Linked DNA regions of Homo sapiens: region 1 is linked to region 2. The links are contacts of gene promoters, found by promoter capture Hi-C in blood cells and fetal thymus (Javierre and others, 2016). All regions are on one chromosome and are shown on one strand. The core of a region is centred on a gene start or on the middle of the fragment in contact, and the rest is flanking DNA. Distances in the headings are between cores, read along the strand shown.

Evidence for each region. The method cuts DNA at HindIII sites, captures the fragments that hold promoters and counts their contacts. A CHiCAGO score of 5 or more calls a contact.
Region 1: a fragment that was not itself captured here is called in contact with the fragment with the promoter of PSMB1 in region 2 in 2 of 17 cell types (activated CD4 T cells and total B cells); the score reaches 9.0 in activated CD4 T cells.

What each region holds. Positions count from the first base shown.
Region 1 is chr6:73,654,929-73,657,662 of GRCh38, reverse strand. No RefSeq gene overlaps it. Among named protein-coding and RNA genes, the nearest start is that of SLC17A5, 2.3 kb to the right of the region's middle. RefSeq lists an enhancer at 2,467-2,556. The HindIII fragment of the contact is 2,167 bases long and covers 349-2,515 here.
Region 2 is chr6:170,552,000-170,554,710 of GRCh38, reverse strand. It overlaps PSMB1 (proteasome 20S subunit beta 1), which reads left to right and starts at 1,404. Exons shown (of 6, transcript NM_002793.4): 1 at 1,404-1,581. The coding sequence starts at 1,469. TBP (TATA-box binding protein) reads right to left here and starts at 342. Exons shown (of 8, transcript NM_003194.5): 1 at 248-342. RefSeq lists enhancers at 72-461, 1,272-1,651. The HindIII fragment of the contact is 7,721 bases long and covers 1-2,711 here.

The DNA of each region.
Region 1 (2,734 bases), core at 183-2,682, about 97 Mb after region 2:
AATAACACCAACAATGATCTTTTATGGTAGTGTGCAATCAGGAAATAAATGCCAGATATAAGGGGGAAAAAATGTGTCATCATACTTTTTTTTAATCTTCTTGGGGCCAGGCACAGTGGTTCACACCTATCATATCAATACTTTGGAAGGTCAAGGCAGGAGGACTGCTTGAGCCCAGCCTGGGCGTCACAGGGAGGCCCTGTCTCTAACAAAAATGTTTTTAAATTAGCAGGGCGTGGTGGCACATGCCTGTGGTCTCAGCTACCAGGGAGGCTGAGGTAGGAGGATCACTTGAGCCCAGGAGGTGGAGCCTACAGGGAGCCGTGATCACACCTCTGCACTCAAGCTTAGGTGACAGAGTAAGATCCTGTCTCAAAATCTTCTTGGGAAGATTATAAAAACAAAAACCAAAGTACCTCCTCTGAACCTAGAATCAATGACACTGCAATAGGAAGAAGTACACCCAATGCTCAGATGTTAGTTTGTAATATCATTCTCCTTATAGAAATGGCAGGGGTAGAGAATACACAAGATGAGCCTGGAACATCTTGTTGTACCAGAAAGTAAGGGAATGCTCAAAAAACACAACAATGGAGGCATGCAAGACACAAGAGCCAACTGAAAGAGCTCTTAGTCACCAAAGCTGGAACAATTTGAGCAACAAAATAAATAACATAGTGTTGGGAGTATAACCCAAAGTATAAAATAATAACCATGACATCATACTAATAAAAATAAATGATTGAATAAGTAAATAAATGTAGGAGAATAAACAAATCTCCCAAACAAAAGAATTCTTCCCCTGAAACTGGTGGAGTATAGATAACTCCCCACCCCTTAAGTGAAGGCTGCACATACTGATTTCCTTCCAAAGAGAAAAGTAAGGCCGGGGGAAAAGAGTTAACTTCACAGTGAAAACACCTGACAAACACAACCTCAGGCATGCAATGAGGCTTACCATCACTACTGATAAACATCAGTGATAAATAAGTTGACAGCACATTCCCTTGACATTACATGATGAGAATGGCCCTTTACCTCTATGACCTTTCCCTCAAAAATCCATAACCCCAGTCTAATTATAAGAAAAACATTCAGGCCGGGGGTGGTGGTTCATGCCTGTAATCCCAGCACTTTGGGAGGCTGAGGCAGGTGGAGGCTGAGGCAGGAGGTCAGGAGATGGAGACCATCCTGGCTAACATGGTGAAACCCCATCTCTACTAAAAATACAAAAAATTAGCCGGGCGTGGTGGCATGCACCTATAGTCCCAGCTACTCGGGACGTTGAGGCAGGAGAATCGCTTGAACCTGGGAGGTGGAGGCTGCAGTGAGCCGAGATCGTGCCACTGCACTCTAGCCTGGACGACAGAGCGTGACCTCGTCTCAAAAAAAAATTCGACAACCCAAATTAAGACACTTTCTACAAAACCTACCAGTACTCTACAAAACTGTCAAGGTCAGCAAAAGCAATGAAAGTCAGGAACTGTCGATCTAGAGGAGCCTAAGGAGACATGTAATGTGGCATCCTGGATGAGATCCTGGGACCGAAAAAGGATATTAGGTAAAAATTAAAGAAACGCAAATTAAGTATGAACTTCAGTTAATAATTATCTATACTGGCTCGTTAGTTATGATATATGCATGATACTAATGTAAGATCTTAATAATAGGTCAAACTAAGCAAAGGGTATGGAGAACTCACTGTACTATCTTTGCAACGTTTATGTAAACCTAAAATTTCTAAAATAAAAAATATTAAAAAAAAGAATTCCTCTGGTTTGAAGTCTTTCAAGTCTGTTGCAACTATATTCCCTGGCCCAAGTTATCTATAACCTTGGTCATCTGGGAGCTTGTTAGCAATACAGAATCTCAGGCACATCCCAGATGTACTGGGCTTCTCAGAGAAACAGCCCCAATTGGGTAGTTTGGGTAATAAAGTTTTGGCTTTCACAATATAGGCTGGCCAACTCGACCCAAAACAGATGATGGTGCACATGCCTGGAGACCCAGGAGGACCTGTGGTGCAGATGAAGTCTGAGGACACTCTGCTGGAGAAGTCTCCCTTGCTTGGGCAAGAGAAGTGGGGGAGTCGGATTTTTTATTCTAGATAGGCCTTCAACTGATTGAAGGAAGCCCACCCAGATTATGGAAGGCAGCCATCTTTACCCAGAGTTCAATGATTTTAGTGTTAACCTCATCCAAAGACAACCAGCAAGTTAACACATAAAATTAACCATCACACCAGATCTGCTGAATCTGAATCTACATTTTAAAAGGATTTGCCAGGTGACTCTGCATAATCCAGTTTGAAAATTGCATTTTTCTACAACCCTTAGAGAGTGTAAAAATCTACATGGTAATTCAGTAACTCAGAAACAAGGCTTGATTTGCTGCTTTAACTTGAGAACTTTTCTAGCATTTACTGATCTGGAGGTAGGGATGCCTACAGAAATCCTCGCCCTCCCTTCTAGGTAAAGGACCCTCCCCTTTGTTCTCACGTGAACCTCACTAAGCTTCTAACCTGGTTTACTGAATTAGTGGCTTGTGGGTCTTCCCTGTCTACACCAAACTCTCCGAGAGCATCTACATCTTATTTTCTACCTCCACAGAGACAGCCTTTATTGGCGGATCCAGATCTGCCCTGCCAAGGCAAGCTGGGTTTTCCTAGTTTCACTTTCAGAGTCCGCAAATGCTAGCACAATCTATCCAAATTCTATCGTGGAGATAAAGCATG
Region 2 (2,711 bases), core at 155-2,654:
TAGTACCCTGAGCCCCACAATCGTACGATGGGAAGCTGCCTGCGAAACACAGCAGAGTAGGGCACCAGGCGGGAGTGGCGGCCGAGTGGCCGTTACAGGCCGGAACGGCGGCAGCACGAAAGGGAGGAACGTCCCCCGAGGGGCCTGCACGCGCGCCAATTCCTAGTCTCTTCCCCACCATTGCCCCCAGGCCTCAGTGCAGTGGTGGCCTTCGCCCGAACCGTCAGAAAAGAGTACAATCTGTTACCTGGGTCACTGCAAAGATCACTATGGGCCAGCGGAAGCGAAGTTAAACAGCCGGCGGCCCAGGCGCCCGCCACAGCGAACCTGCCCGACCTCACTGAACCCCTGGCGCGCGTTGATAATGTCACTTCCGCCAGTTCTGCCCTCGGCTTCAGCGAGTTGCTCCCACTAGGGCCGAGGCCATGAGAAGTGTGAGCATAGGTCACTTCCTGTGTTTCCATAGGTAAGGAGGGGCGAAGCTCTTGAGGAGTTCCGGGGCGGGGCCGCCGTGCCACAGCCATCTCTAATTGGCCCTTGCTGGACGTAGGAAAGATCGATTTTTAAATGGCGTGTGTGTGTATATGTGTGAGTGTGTTTTGTTGTTGTTGTTGTTGTTGTTTAAAGCAACTAGCGGCGTTACCTTCGACAAGTTACCTGACCTCTCCCCCGCATTTTTTTTCTGTAAAATTGAATAATGATAACAGTGCTTACCCTTGGGCTGTCGGGAGATTGACAGAGATTGACAGAATCAGTGCCTGAGCAGTGCTTGGCACTCAGTAAGCGCGTCCTCCTTACCTGTCAGCAAGAACGCTAGCTGATCTTCAAGCGTGTAGAATGACAAGGAACACTAAGCAAAACAAACAGCTTGTGTTTACACATGCATTTATATTCAGTTCTGCCACTCCCAGTTCATGCACTGTTGTCACATGGCTCTTTCCGCAGTTGTTTCTTAGTGGGACTTCAGCACGCCTTGATTTTCCCTTCTGTAGTTCATTGTGGCGTAATCATATGTTATACTGCTTGTTTTCTTTGTACTTTTTATTATCAGTGAGGTTGTGAGCTCTTTAAGGATAGGAAATGTTATATACATTTTTTATTAGCCAGGACAATTAACGTTCCCACCGTTATTCGAGTTGCCGTTGCGCCATAGTTCTGACAATTTTTTTGTATGGTCAGACTTAAATTTTTGTCCATTGGGGTGAATTCCAATGTTTTCTTCGAGGGGGAAAAAAACAAAAAACAAACAAAAAAAACCCTTTACATCCCTGTCAGCGCTTTTTGGAATGGGCGGGATTCAACTACCAAAGGGACAAGCCGCCGTGCAGCCCTCCAGGAGCAACGACTAGCGTGAGATAGAGAGGCCGGGAGCGAACTTCAGGAGAAGCCGGAAGTGGCGTAACGTCCGGTCAAGGCAGCCATCTCGCCGTGAGACAGCAAGTGTCGGATCCGCAGGCGCAGCCGTGCGATGTTGTCCTCTACAGCCATGTATTCGGCTCCTGGCAGAGACTTGGGGATGGAACCGCACAGAGCCGCGGGCCCTTTGCAGCTGCGATTTTCGCCCTACGTTTTCAACGGAGGGTAAAAACCCCAGAGAGCTGCGGCTTTCACTTTCGCCCTTCCCCCATCTGCTGAAGCCTATTTAGGAGTCACCGCCGTGATGGCGCTGCCCCGGGCTCCTGCAGGCCTCAGAACCCTGAGCTGAGGGGGTCCGCACAAGGCCGGTCTCCCTGCCGTCCTCTCATGCCCTGTGTTTCCCTCTTCAGGCTCGCTTTGCTCAAGTTTACTTGGTGATTGCGATACAGCCTTGGTTTTTAGGGTTTCCCATTACAGTCATGTCATTTGAGTTTTTATGTGGACCGCCACTCCGTGCTCCTTGCTGCTGTAAGACAGTAAAGTAGAAATTGAAACATAGCCTCTGCTCTGTGGAAGACCATTAAAACTGGACCTCATGTACACGTTTCTTATGCCAGCCGGCGAGGGTAGAGGGTTAGCGTCTGAAACTTAAAAGTTAGGGTTGTTTGGTCTGTGTTGTTAGATGCATAGCTGGGTTGGTAGCCGAGATGTCTAATTGTAGCCGCCTGATTTCTGTTATTTCTAATTGTAGCAGTTTAATCATTTTGTTTTATTTCAAATAGAAGGTGGGATTGGCTGAGCAAACTTAGTTTCATAGATAAGTGCTTTTTTTTTTTAACGTTTAGCTTAAGTTCAGGAAAACAAAATACTCAGAAGATGGACCTTTTAGTATGTGTGTTCTTGTATGTTATGTTCAAGTTTTGGTTTTTATTTTAATTACCAGCTTTATCTTGAGTAGTATAATTTTCCGTGGTGGCACGCCAGAGATTTAGGGTTATAGAAAGATGCTCTGTTTAAGACTCTTGACAGGGAAGAGCTGTAAATTGAAACAGTGGTTATAGTTACCAATCAAGCCTTGTACATTAAAATATACACACGCAATTTGAACGAACCGATGGTTCTTAAAACAGAAAATATTGGCTGGGCAGTGTGGCTCGCACCTGTAATCCCAGGACTTTGGGAAGCCAAGGCAGGAGGATCATCGCTTGAGGCCAGGAGTTGAAGACCAGCCTGCGCAGCATAGCAAGACCCCATCTCTACAAAAATAAATTTTAAAAACAAAGCAAAAATGTTAATTGGTTCCTCATAAATTTGAAATATAAATGCACATTTTGGGAGTGTGTTAGAAAGATAAC